Linked DNA regions of Homo sapiens: region 1 is linked to region 2. The links are contacts of gene promoters, found by promoter capture Hi-C in human tissues and cell types (Jung and others, 2019). All regions are on one chromosome and are shown on one strand. The core of a region is centred on a gene start or on the middle of the fragment in contact, and the rest is flanking DNA. Distances in the headings are between cores, read along the strand shown.

Region 1 (5,635 bases), core at 1,708-4,207, 530 kb after region 2:
TTCTCAGATCATACACAGATACACACACATAGACATATATGTATACACGTACATACATAATTGGCAAAACAAAAAAATATAATTTAGATTAAGCTTATTTTCTATTATAAAGTCTGGTATGAAGAATTTTATATTCTATTACAAATGTTTAAGGTTAAATTTTTTATGCCATTAACACAGATGGAATGTTTTTCATTTTTGAGGGAAAAGGAGATTAAAATCTTTGCTGTTTTCTAATTGCTTAACTGAAAAAAACAATCAAGAGGATCCCTATTATTAAGCCACTCTGCAGGATTTATTTTCCAAAGTTTAAGGTTTTAATTTAAAAAGACAATATTACATGTTGTTGTCAATTCCCTTCATATTTCAAGAAAGGATGATCCTTTATTAAAGTTGAAGAGCATTGCATTGCATTAATTATTTTGAAACAACAGCAATTTCCAATTCACTTCAGTAAAATTTAACTTCCTCATAAAATGTCAGTGGACACCCATTTCTTCAATATTGTTCATATCAATTGTCTTTAAATGTTTAAAATGTCAATAACTATTAAATATAAACTCTACTTCTGAAATAGAAATTAAATTTTCGTGAAGTAAAAATTTAAGTAATCATTAAGTGTGTTGACATGTAAATCAATGTTCAAGTTTAGTGTTTTGAAACTTTTACAAAAGAACAAATTCCTTTGTTTTAAACAATTTTAATGAGGACATAGTTGAAAACAAAAACTTCTCAATTGCAATAATTTGGATTTTAATTTCGAAATAATAATCTTTAAAAGTCTAACATTAGTCACAGAAAGGGTTAAATTTATTTTTCACCATTTTGTGTTATGTATAATTAAACAAAAGCAAATTTGTACTCCTTAGGTGTTAGGCTGACATTTCCACTTCTGACTCTGTTTATATTAGACACATTCTTTTAAGCTACTTCAAGTATTTTTGGAACAAAGCAACACACAAAATAAACAAATGCATTATGTTTGTTGACATTTCTTTTTCTAGCATATCTGAATATCTATGTGATCTCCAGGATTGATGATAAAAATCAAACACTATACAGTACTATTTACTGTCGTCTTTTATGTAAGTGAGTTGTAAGAAGGTGAAATTATACTTTGTTTTATATTCAAATAGAAGCAGTAAGATACTGAGTTATTGCCATAAGCAATCTTACAGATAGGTTCCAGAAATAACCAAAAGAACATTAGAAGATGTAACAAGCTTTCTGTCACTTGTATTTATTATTCCTTGTGATAATATGAGCTTTACAAACCCTTTAAGTTCTTACCAAGGACCAAAACAGGCCAACTCTTCCTCCAAGTTATCTCTCCCATATACCCATTCCCACTCTACCCTACCCTACCACCATTCCCAGAAGTAATTCTGACCATAACCTTTCACTTACTCAACCTACCACCCCATTCTCAATGCATTCCTAGGATTCTGCAACCACTAAAATCCAAAGGATAATTTCAAAACTGAGGTAGATATGGTTGGTTGCCTAACATTCCCTAATTTTTCATTGTTTATATAGCAATTTAAGGAACCTTGAATTATTTCTAGCAGTAGCATTTCAGAGAAGGTGGGTTTTCCCTCCAGAAGAGGAAATGAACCATAATTGGTCTAAATGAAGAGTGTAATCTCATCCTGCTTTGTTAATGGTTAATGTGACTTAGTTTTGCCTAATTTTGACCAATGAGATATAAGGGGAAGTCTGCTGACTAGACTTCTAGGAGGGTCTTACTCAAAGTAAAATAATCCTTTCTTTCTGCTTTAAATATATAAGGATGCAACAATCTTGTCACTGTGAGGTGGTTAAGTCTAGAACAATAGGCCAGCAGTCTGAGGAAGGCAGAGAAGAGGGTACCTGGGTCATCTGGAACCCCCTACTTGCAGACTACTTGTTTGCTGAGATATTTGGATGTCTTTGTGGATTATGTAATTAATGATTGGATAATCTGTTACTTGTAATAGAAAATCTTCTTAACTAATTTTCAGAAAAGTAAAAGTTGATAGTTTCCCCATTCCATTCAACTTCAAGCACTATCTAAAGCCTTTTAATGATGCCCCTTTTGGGAGGAGCATAGAGGCTCACACCTGTAATCCCAGCACTTTGGGAAGCCGAGGGGAGCCTCATCGCTTGAGCTCAGGAGTTCGAGATCAGCCTGGCCAACATGGCAAGACCTGTCTCTACCAAAAAAAAAAAAAAAAAAAAAAAACAAGGCCGGGTGCAGTGGCTCATGTCTGTAATCCCAGCACTTTGGGAGGCTGAGGTGGGTAGATCATTTGAGGCCAGGAGTTTGAGACCAGCCTGGCCAACATGGTGAAACCCCGTCTCTACTAAAAATACAAAAAAAAAAAAAAAAAAAAAATTAGCCAGGCGGTAGTGGCGCATCCTGTAATCCCAGCTACTCAGGAGGCGAAGCAGGAGAATCACTTGAACCTGGGAGGCAGAGGTTGCAGTGAGCCAATATTGTGCCACTGCACTCCAGTCTGGATGGCAGAGTGAGACCTGTCAAAAAAAAAAAAAAAAAGATACCTCTTTAGAAGATAAATGTTTTTCTCTTCCATCATTTATTCTGTCTTGTGCTGTATGCCTATTCTAAAATTTTATTACTACACAAGAAGCTTCATGAAATTATGACGAATTAGGTTTGCAAAAAGTCCCAATTTTATGTACCTTGGTCCCATCTTTATGATGTGTCAACTTTTAACGTATATGATCTCCTCCCAAATCCCACCATCAACATTAGAATGTGTTTTCAGGAGAGGATGTTAGAGAGTTATATCCTTAGTATGATTTTAACATCAAGATGCTAGAATGCCCTTAGGCAGTGATTTTTCAATGTATATATACATATCACCTGCATCAGAGTTACCTGCAAGGGTTTCTTAAAAATGCAGAATCCTCAGCCCCATCCCAGAACTGGTGAAACTGGAGTCTCTAAAGGTAGGACCCAGGAATCTGCATTGTATAAGCTCCCTCATTAAGGATTGAGAGCCACAGGCTTAAGGTGACTTATATTTTGTAGAGTTGGTTGGAGGTAAAGGAGACTTTGAGGTAGGGTAAGTCAGACCGTTAAATCATCCTGAAGAAGTGGGACAGCTGGGGACTCTCTTGGCCATTTGCCATGTTACAATGCTTCCTTGTCAGTGAACATACAAACTTCTAAACTTTGATCAGGCACAGTGAGGCTTCCCCTTCTAATGAAATCATTTATGTAATTGATAGCAATAACAAAGTCCATGGACTACTAATTTTTTTGGCTTACACTGAGTTATCTCTGATAGAAAATCTCTGCTAAAAATTGGTTTTTAATACCCGCATGTGAGAAAGTAAAAGTATTAATCAGAGATCATCACTGTCCATCACCTTGAGTATTAAAGGAGATCAGACCCATTAAGGGATGGAAGCAATGACCAGTTTCTGGATATTGCATTCCACCCAGACAAATCCCTTTTTATTCTGCCTTCCTTAAGAAAGATAGCTGGAGTGGAATAGAGGGCAGGGGATCTCTAATTCCTGTTTGGACCTTTGAAATCATTCAACTATTTAGGAAAGACACTACACTACCAGTGGTTTGAGTAATTAGTATAAGTAACATTTCATTATTTACCAATATTATTTTGAGTAGAGAATAAAGAGACTTTGCTGAAAAGTATTTCTCACTGACATCTGAACTTTTCATTCACCGGCTTATAAAATGACCTATTATTTCCAGGAGCTCGCAAGGAAAGGGAGTTTCCGAGATTACTAGCCAAGAATTCCCCTAAAACTGATGACCGTCAATGAATTTGGTTGTGTTTCACCTGAGACTTAAGAGGTACTTGAATACTTAATCAGCTTACCTCCACTGTTCTGCCCCACCTGAATCTTTAGAAGATTCAGGAGCTAAAATCTTTAGAAGATTCAGGAGCTAAAAAGAAGGCCTCTCAAAAATAAGAGACACCTGTCCCCCAGAGATTGGTGGAAGACAAAGGGCAGACAGGTATGATGAGTTCTAGATATTGCAGATGCAAGTGCCCAGATGAGAACAGACTTATCTATTACATGAAAGAAACGGGCCGGGGTAATTGACTATATCAAAATAGCAAGAGCATGGCCCTTCTCAAGTCCAGCTCAGCCAAAAAGTACTATGTAGGAAGATTGCCCAGTGTGGACAAGTCTTCCAATTTTTTAAAAGAAGCTAGAAAGCTGAATGTTTACATGAAAGCTCCCAATTTCTAAATGTTGGTTCAGAAAAATTTTAAACACTGTGTGAGCCAATAAAACACATCTTCAAGGTTGAATTTGGCCTGCAAGCATACACTTGCAACCACAGAGGTTTGCTCTCAAAGGTAAAATAGAAAAGTTAAAAGACTATTAAGGTTTCCAAGCTAACTGGGGAGGACAGGGTTAGGTATATTTTGAAAATTATTAATTTTTTTTTCTCTGCCTTTCTGAGTGCATGACATTGGCCCCATTCTACCTGAAACATTGAAACATCCATTGGCTTTGGAAAAACAAATTAGGAATTTTTCACTGAAAAAATTAAAGAGAAAGACTAAGATAATATTTAGCTTCTGATGTTTAAAAGTTATTTTCTTCTGTGTACTATGTCAGCAAGCAGTAAGTAGCCATAAGTGGATCTGGAAACCAGATAATAGTACTATTTTCCAAATAGTTTAGTTTCCCATAGGTAAATTTAAAGGATCCACAGAGAATTCAGCATGTTCTTCCACTCAATGATAATTTTTCTATAAAATAGAACTCTCTTCTAATGCAGAAAAGCCTGAATAATTACTTGATGTCATGCCAAATATGTAACAGCAGGACAATGTTAGTCAGACAGGGAGTAGGTATGGAGAGAGCCAAGCAAAATGTCCTTTTCTGGAATCAGCAATTCAGGAGTTAAAAGTTCAAAGTGAACGGTGGTCTAGAAATGGGAAGTCATGTCAGAGTCTAGACAAGGTACTTGCAGCACAGTCACTACAGAACAAGGTAGATTGGGATTGCCAGGTCTCAAAAGTCAATGGGGGTAAGATCTAGAACTTCCCAGTTCAATATGGTAGTCTCCAGCCATATGTGGCTAGTGAGAACTTGAAATGTGTCTTGTTTGAATTGAGATGTATTGTAAGTGTAAAACCTACAATGGATTTAGAAGACATTATTTTAAAAGGACATAAAATGTCTCATTAAAATTTTAAATTTTGATTACATGTTGAAACGATAGTATTTTAGATATATTGGGTTAAATATAATATATTCCTAAAATTTATTGCACCTAATTCTTTTTACTTTTTTAATGTGGCTACTAGAAAACTTAAAAGAGCAAATGTATCTCATATTATATTTCCACTGGTCCAGGACATAAACTATTAAGCTAAGAGGAAAATCAGGACCCCAGGAACATCCTGATGGCAAAGCATGCAGTTCACATTCTTCTGCACTTCCTGATGAAGTGAGGAGATGGGGAATGGGATGTGGTAGGGCAGCTTTAGGTCTGCACACACGAAAAAGGAAGTTAGAGAAATAGAGAACTCTGGAAATAACTAGACCTGCTGATGTTTACTAAAATGGTAAGAGAGCTAAGATAATAAAGATGTTTTTTAAAAATTGTTTTAACTAAAGCAAGATGAAAAGAAATGTAAAC
Region 2 (6,221 bases), core at 3,154-5,653:
TATTTCATTTGGTTGTTGTGAAAATTAATGAAATAATGTATATGAGACCATTTGTAAATTTTAAAGCACCATAATACATAAGGAAGGTTGTCTGCCTAGTACATGTAATGTGTAATGAGCTTTGCTGAGGCTGTATAGACATGTAAATTAACGTTTACAAATGTGTTCATAGAATCAATATTAGAGATAAATGGATTAAAAATATCACAGGAGAAGCTAGAAGATAGCAACAAGTTGGGAGATGAGCCTCCTGGACTTGTGTTCTGGACTGATAGAGCATTTGTTGTCATAGTAAACTCCACGTGGACAGAAAACCATGGCTTAGTTGTCTTAGTTCAATTTGCATACTCAGCATCTAGCACAACACTTTGCACCTTGTTGTTGCCCAGATAACTGCTGAAGAATAAGTGATTTTTATCTATGTAATCACTTCAAAATTACACTTCTGTGAGTGACTAGGTGGAAGGACACGAAGCATTTTAGCATATGGCATGGGGGGTTAGAAAATATATATGTGTTGAGGTCAGTGCGGTGGCTTATGCTTGTAATCCCAGCACTTTGGGAGGCCGAGGTGGGAAGATCATGAGGTCAGGAGTTCGAGACCAGCCTCACCAATATGGTGAAACCCCCGTCTCTACTAAAAATAAAAAAATTAGCCAGGCATGGTGGAGTGTGCCTGTAGTCCGAGCTACTCAGGAGACGGAGGCAGAAGAATCACTTGAACCCGGGAGGCAGAGGTTGCAGTGAGCCGAGATCATGCCACTGCACTCCAGCCTGGGTGACAGAGTGAGACTCCATCTTAAAAAAAAAAAAAAAAAGGAAAAGAAAATATGTATGTGTTGAAGCTAGTCACGCCTACAGAAGTGTCGAATGTCAATTAATCATAGTCTGTATGCTAAATAATAGAGGCAGAACTTTAGGCTGGCTGGGGAAAGGCCAAAGCCGTGAACCCAGGATGATTCCATGAATAAAGCCAGACCTCACTCTCTAAAACAAATGGCTTTGCTTCCTGGGACCTTTGCTGAACTTCACATAATAGCAAGGTGCAAAAATAGCTTGGAGGAAAAAGCAGGGCCACTGCTCTGAATGAATACTTTAAAACTCCAGGACAGTAACTGGAATGCAATTTAGCAACACAGCAAATACTACCCAGCTCAAATCACTAGATGATATTTCTTGCAGCAATCAATGGCCAGTCTGGACTGCATTAGCATGCTTCACAACTTTATGGATTGTGGCTTATGTGGGCAGATATTTTGAGACTTGGGTGTGGAAGAATATGCTTGCTTTCAAAACATTCTAGGCAAAAAGCTAAGTCTGAGAAAGAAGACCAGTCTTGTGGGTATTTTGGGAAGTATGTCATCATAGTGATTATTTCCAGGCTTCTCTGGATATTGCCAGTGTGATGGTTCATGCTGAGTGTCAACTTGATTGGATTGAAGGATACAAAGTATTGATCCTGGGTGTGTCTGTGAGGGCGTTGCCAAAAGAGATTAGCATTTAAGTCACTGGGCTGGGGAAGGCAGATCCACCCTTAATCTAGTGGGCACAATCTAATCAGCTGCCAGCAAATACAAAGCAGGCAAAAAAACGTGAAAAGGTGACTGGCCTAGCCTCCCAGCCTACATCTTTCTCTCTTGCTATTTGTCCTTGAACATTGGATTCCAAGTTCTTCAGTTTTGGGAGTCAGACTGGCTCTCCTTGCTCCTCAGTTTGCAGACAGCCTATTGTGGGACCTTGTGACTGTGTAAGTTAATACTTAATAAACTCATCTTTATATACATATACACACATATATACACATACGTATATCTGTATATATATACACATACATATATGTGTGTGTGTGTGTGTGTGTGTGTGTGTGTATATATCCTATTAGTTCTGTCCCTCTAGAGAACTTTGATTAATACAGCCAGTAAAGGAGAGATCTTCAGGATAGCCTGGCTTAAAACAATAGTGGGGTATTATTTTTCACCTATAAAATTGAGAAGGAGTTTAAAAAATAATAGTATTACTGAGAACATACCCCAACACTGCTGATAGGAGGGTCACTTGGCCAAAAACAATTTTTAAGAATGTATAATCCTTTGACTCCACAATTTCACTTCTAAGAATTTATGCGAAGAAAATAATCCCATATCAGTGCAAAGATCTATTCATTAGTTTAGGTGCAGTCCAGTGTTAATTATAATAGTTAAAATATTAGAAATAAATAATATATCTAACAGTAGAGAATTGCCTAAGGGAATTTTGCTACATCCATATAAAGGAACAGTGTGCAACTGTTAAAAATAAGGTTGTAGAAGAATATTTAATGACCTGGAAATTTGTTCATCCTCTGTCATTAAATTAAAAAGCAGTTTACAAAACACTGTTTACAAAAGTATCCAGAACAAGTCTATATTGTTTAAAAAGCAAGCAAAGGAATAATCCATACAAGTGCATAGAAGAAAAGTCTAGAAGTTTATACATTAAAATGTTAATAGCAATTATCTTTGGGTGGTGGGGTTACAGGTGACTTCTTTAGGCTCACCCCCACCAAATTTTCTATTAAAATTATCATATTAGCAATTGAAGTGGGGGGAAGTCACTTTAACATTTCATACAAAGTCAACAGAAAACAAAAACCTCTGATAAACTAGAATTGTTTACTAACAGAGAAGCAAGAGCATTTTACAGTGCTATGCCTTAACCCTGACACATTCCAGGACTTTACATTCTAGGGTACTTGGTTCAAAATTTATTTGAGCACTAGTAGTAAAGCATGGTCTAAAAGTTCACATTGTTTTCATTTACCATGAAGTATTTTCTGCCGACACTATGCTAAGCCTTGTAGAGCATGAAGTCATGTTATACAGCTCCAGGAACCGATGCAGAGAGGTGGCCTGACACATTCATGTGACTGTTAGCACACAGATTCCATCTTGGAAATGGGAGGTTTTGGCCCTTTAGCCAACACTCTCCACACCACTGAAATCTAAAACTGCGTCTACAGAAAAATAATTAAAGAGCTCATTGCCTAGACCTACACATAAAAAGATCTATCCTAGGTTATTGAGGAGAAGTTAGAAGTGTCTGGTGAATCCTTAACCTCTGTGGAGTGATGATGTCATCCATGAGAGACCCAGCCTTTCCCACAAGTGTCATTTGCTGTCCCTGACAGGGTGGATTGGAGGGATCATCTTGTCTATTCATGTCAACCATCTGACACTAACTCAGCTGGCTGGAGAGTGGATTTGAAAATTTAAAAAGACTGATGGTGAAAATGGCTGGGAGGTAGATAGTTTAGTTTGAATGAGTGCCCAGCAAGTGAAATGTGACACTTTTCCCTGACTGTCTCCAGATGTCCCTGGACCATAAAAAGGAAAGAGTCAAGAATATATTTATTTTTCCCACAATGAATGAGCCAGAGATCCAGACAAACTTAGGCTTAAACAAAGTGAAAAAAGTGTCCCACCAGTGGTACTATGGTAGAGAAAGCTCCAGGCTAACTTAAAGCTACTCTCAGCTGAAATCCCCCTTGTAGCTGACTCAGCCTTGCTCAGATGGGTGTTTTGAATTAGACAAAATCTAGCATACTCTAAAAAACACAGTGGCTAGAAGTTTAAGCATGTAAGTTTCAGAATGACAGCTCCAAGGAATATGCATTCTTGACAGTCTTCCATAGTCCTCTAAAAATCAATAGTGAATCCAAGTTAACCCACCCTTATGCATCACTATTATGTCAGAGCTTCCCCGGGTCCTTCACCAGCCCACCATTCTTCCTGGAATGCAAATGCACAGAAGGTCACAGAATATGCAACTCATGAGCTGGACGGACTCACCTTGCTGTCGCCGGTCCTCCTGCAGCTTCAGTTTACAGGTGTGCAAACTGCCAGGCAGGTGGCTGCTGCCTTTTCTTGGTATGGTAGTCATGGTCCTAGCAGTATGGCTGTGACTCAAGGATCACTAGGGCACCTCCTTCTCTGGCCAGTCACCTAAAGTGGCCTTCACCAGACACCCAGAAATACATAGATTCATGCAGATCTTGTCTTTGCATGTACAACATATACTCCTCTACTAAACTTCCAAGCTTTTTCCAGTCATGATTCTTGAAATAAATAATCACCAATGTTACTTCTCCTAAATATAAAGATGCCAATTCATTTGGTTAAAAACACAACTTAATTCCTTCATTTCAAAACAAATTGAAACTAAACCTCCTTATAGAGTAAAATTCTACAAATTAACTATTTCTAACAGATTACACTTTTGTCATTTTTAAATTCCTTTTGGCGACATGAAATCCAATGCCTCCAGTATTTAGAGAAGGCTGCTAAAATAATACAGACACAAAGAAAAGAAAAAGTGCTGCTGAGTTAAGTCAAGTGATTTCTAAGCCTGATCTGAGTTACCCTCTGTGACAGCTGAAAGTGTACAGTTCTTAAGGGACTCTGGAAGGAGGAGGAGCAAAGTGGGCTAGGATGATTAGCATAAAGAGGCAGGCAAGACGGGCATTGGAGCTGCTTTGAATAATAGTGAACAAAGCACAGATTCTAAAGATGCCCTGCCCTTATGTTACAGTAACTGAGTACCTGATTTCTGCTACTTTGTTTGTAATTAAAATGCAAGCTGAAAGCAGGAGTTTATACTGCAAGGACATTCATTTGTGCATGTGAAATCTAAAAGGTATAAATGGAACTGGTAATGAGCTCATGGAAATGTACTGCTGGAACTTTCAATTTCTGTAAACACCTCCTAGTCTTCGGAAGGGAGCAGTTAGAGGGCAGCCTTCCTGCCAAGGCAACTATTTGGAGTTCTGGAAGAAAAATAAACACACAAAACATTATCTTTCCAGAGTCCTATTTCTGTTTCCCACTTAGAGTTCTTATTGCTACTTCTAGGTCATAGGAGAAAGTAATTTCCAGTTTTACTCGTTGGCTATTTCCTTACTGTTTGGAAACATAAACCCCAAACACCATTAATTTAACTTGAGAGCTTGCCATAACTGAAGTCATAATGAATGCTGGTAGGTCCTGCCCTTCAAGAGTCACAGCTCTTCGCAGATTCAGAAAGAAGGTAGTGGGCAGGACTAAGGAGAAAGGCAGAGCTGTTTAGCCTCGAAGTCTGGACTCTGCAGCTTCTTATGTGCATTTGGAAATTGGTGTTAAACTTGACACTGTAATGAATTTACCTCCTAACCAGATCTGGGTGGCTGCCCTCATTTTACTTTGAGGCAATTAACAATTCCCCAAGTATAGTCTGGTTTATGAAAATTTTTATGAAGTAGGTGATTGATCTTTTATAATTCTTGAATGCTTTAATTGTTTCAGTAGTCTATCTACTGCAGTTTTAGGCTAATCACAGTGTAACAGATGACAGAAGTGTTGTGCTACTTTGAAAGAGAGTCTTGTTATTGGAGAGTCATAGTTTCTACTTTAAATGTCTGCTATTCATCTCATCTTCCACAAAAGCCATGGTGGAGAGACAAGGTGATTTTTCCTGAATATGTAAAGTTATTGTTATTCTATCAAGTTATGTACCTCACTAATAAGCATATTATTATACAGGTAAGTTAAATAACCTACAAAACTGTAAGCCAGCCCTTTTGAGAAATACATTTAAAATGTTTTATGATGAAAAAATTTAAAAATACATGAATAGGAGAGAATAGCACAATAAGCCCTGCATACTCATCACTTGGCTTCAATATTATCAACTCATAGACAATCGTGTCTTAAAACTATGTGTTTCATTATAGCTGTTCTCCCCCTTATTACACCACTGGAGTTGAAGCATCCAGACATCATTGCATTAATAAATATTTCAGTGTATATTTCTAAAATGTGAGGATTTAAAAATAGATAACCATAATAAGATAGTCACGCACATAACAATTAAATATGATTATTTGATGTAATTAAGCATCCACACAGTGTTCTTATTTTCCTGATTGTCTCATAAACTTTTTTATCTTTACATTTTTTGCAAATTGGGACCCAAAGGTCCACACATTGTATTTGGTTGATATGTTTCTCAAGTCTTTTTTAATCTATAGGTTCATCTCAGAGAGAAATGTTGCTTGGAGATGAACATCTACACTTACCCTAATTTATGTCTGATTTTTTCAAGGAAGCCCCCTAGATGCCTCCATTTTTCTTACTCAGGAAAAAAAGAGAAAAAAAAAGGGTGGTCATCTGGCCATGGAGGCTAAGACATCCAGCTTTCTTGCCATGGTG

Evidence for each region. Contacts are between HindIII fragments. The study calls those that stand out against the background at their distance.
Region 1: a fragment that was not itself captured here is called in contact with the fragment with the promoter of RANBP3L in region 2 in 2 of the 25 tissues and cell types used here (dorsolateral prefrontal cortex and spleen).

Annotation. Positions count from the first base shown.
Region 1 is chr5:36,831,557-36,837,191 of GRCh38, forward strand. No RefSeq gene overlaps it. Among named protein-coding and RNA genes, the nearest start is that of NIPBL-DT, 42 kb to the right of the region's middle. The HindIII fragment of the contact is 4,598 bases long and covers 659-5,256 here.
Region 2 is chr5:36,297,499-36,303,719 of GRCh38, forward strand. It overlaps RANBP3L (RAN binding protein 3 like), which reads right to left and starts at 4,404. Exons shown (of 14, transcript NM_145000.5): 1 at 3,828-4,404. The coding sequence starts at 3,918. The region is part of intron 1 of LOC124900962 (a long non-coding RNA gene); the gene reads left to right. The HindIII fragment of the contact is 10,640 bases long and covers 2,033-6,221 here.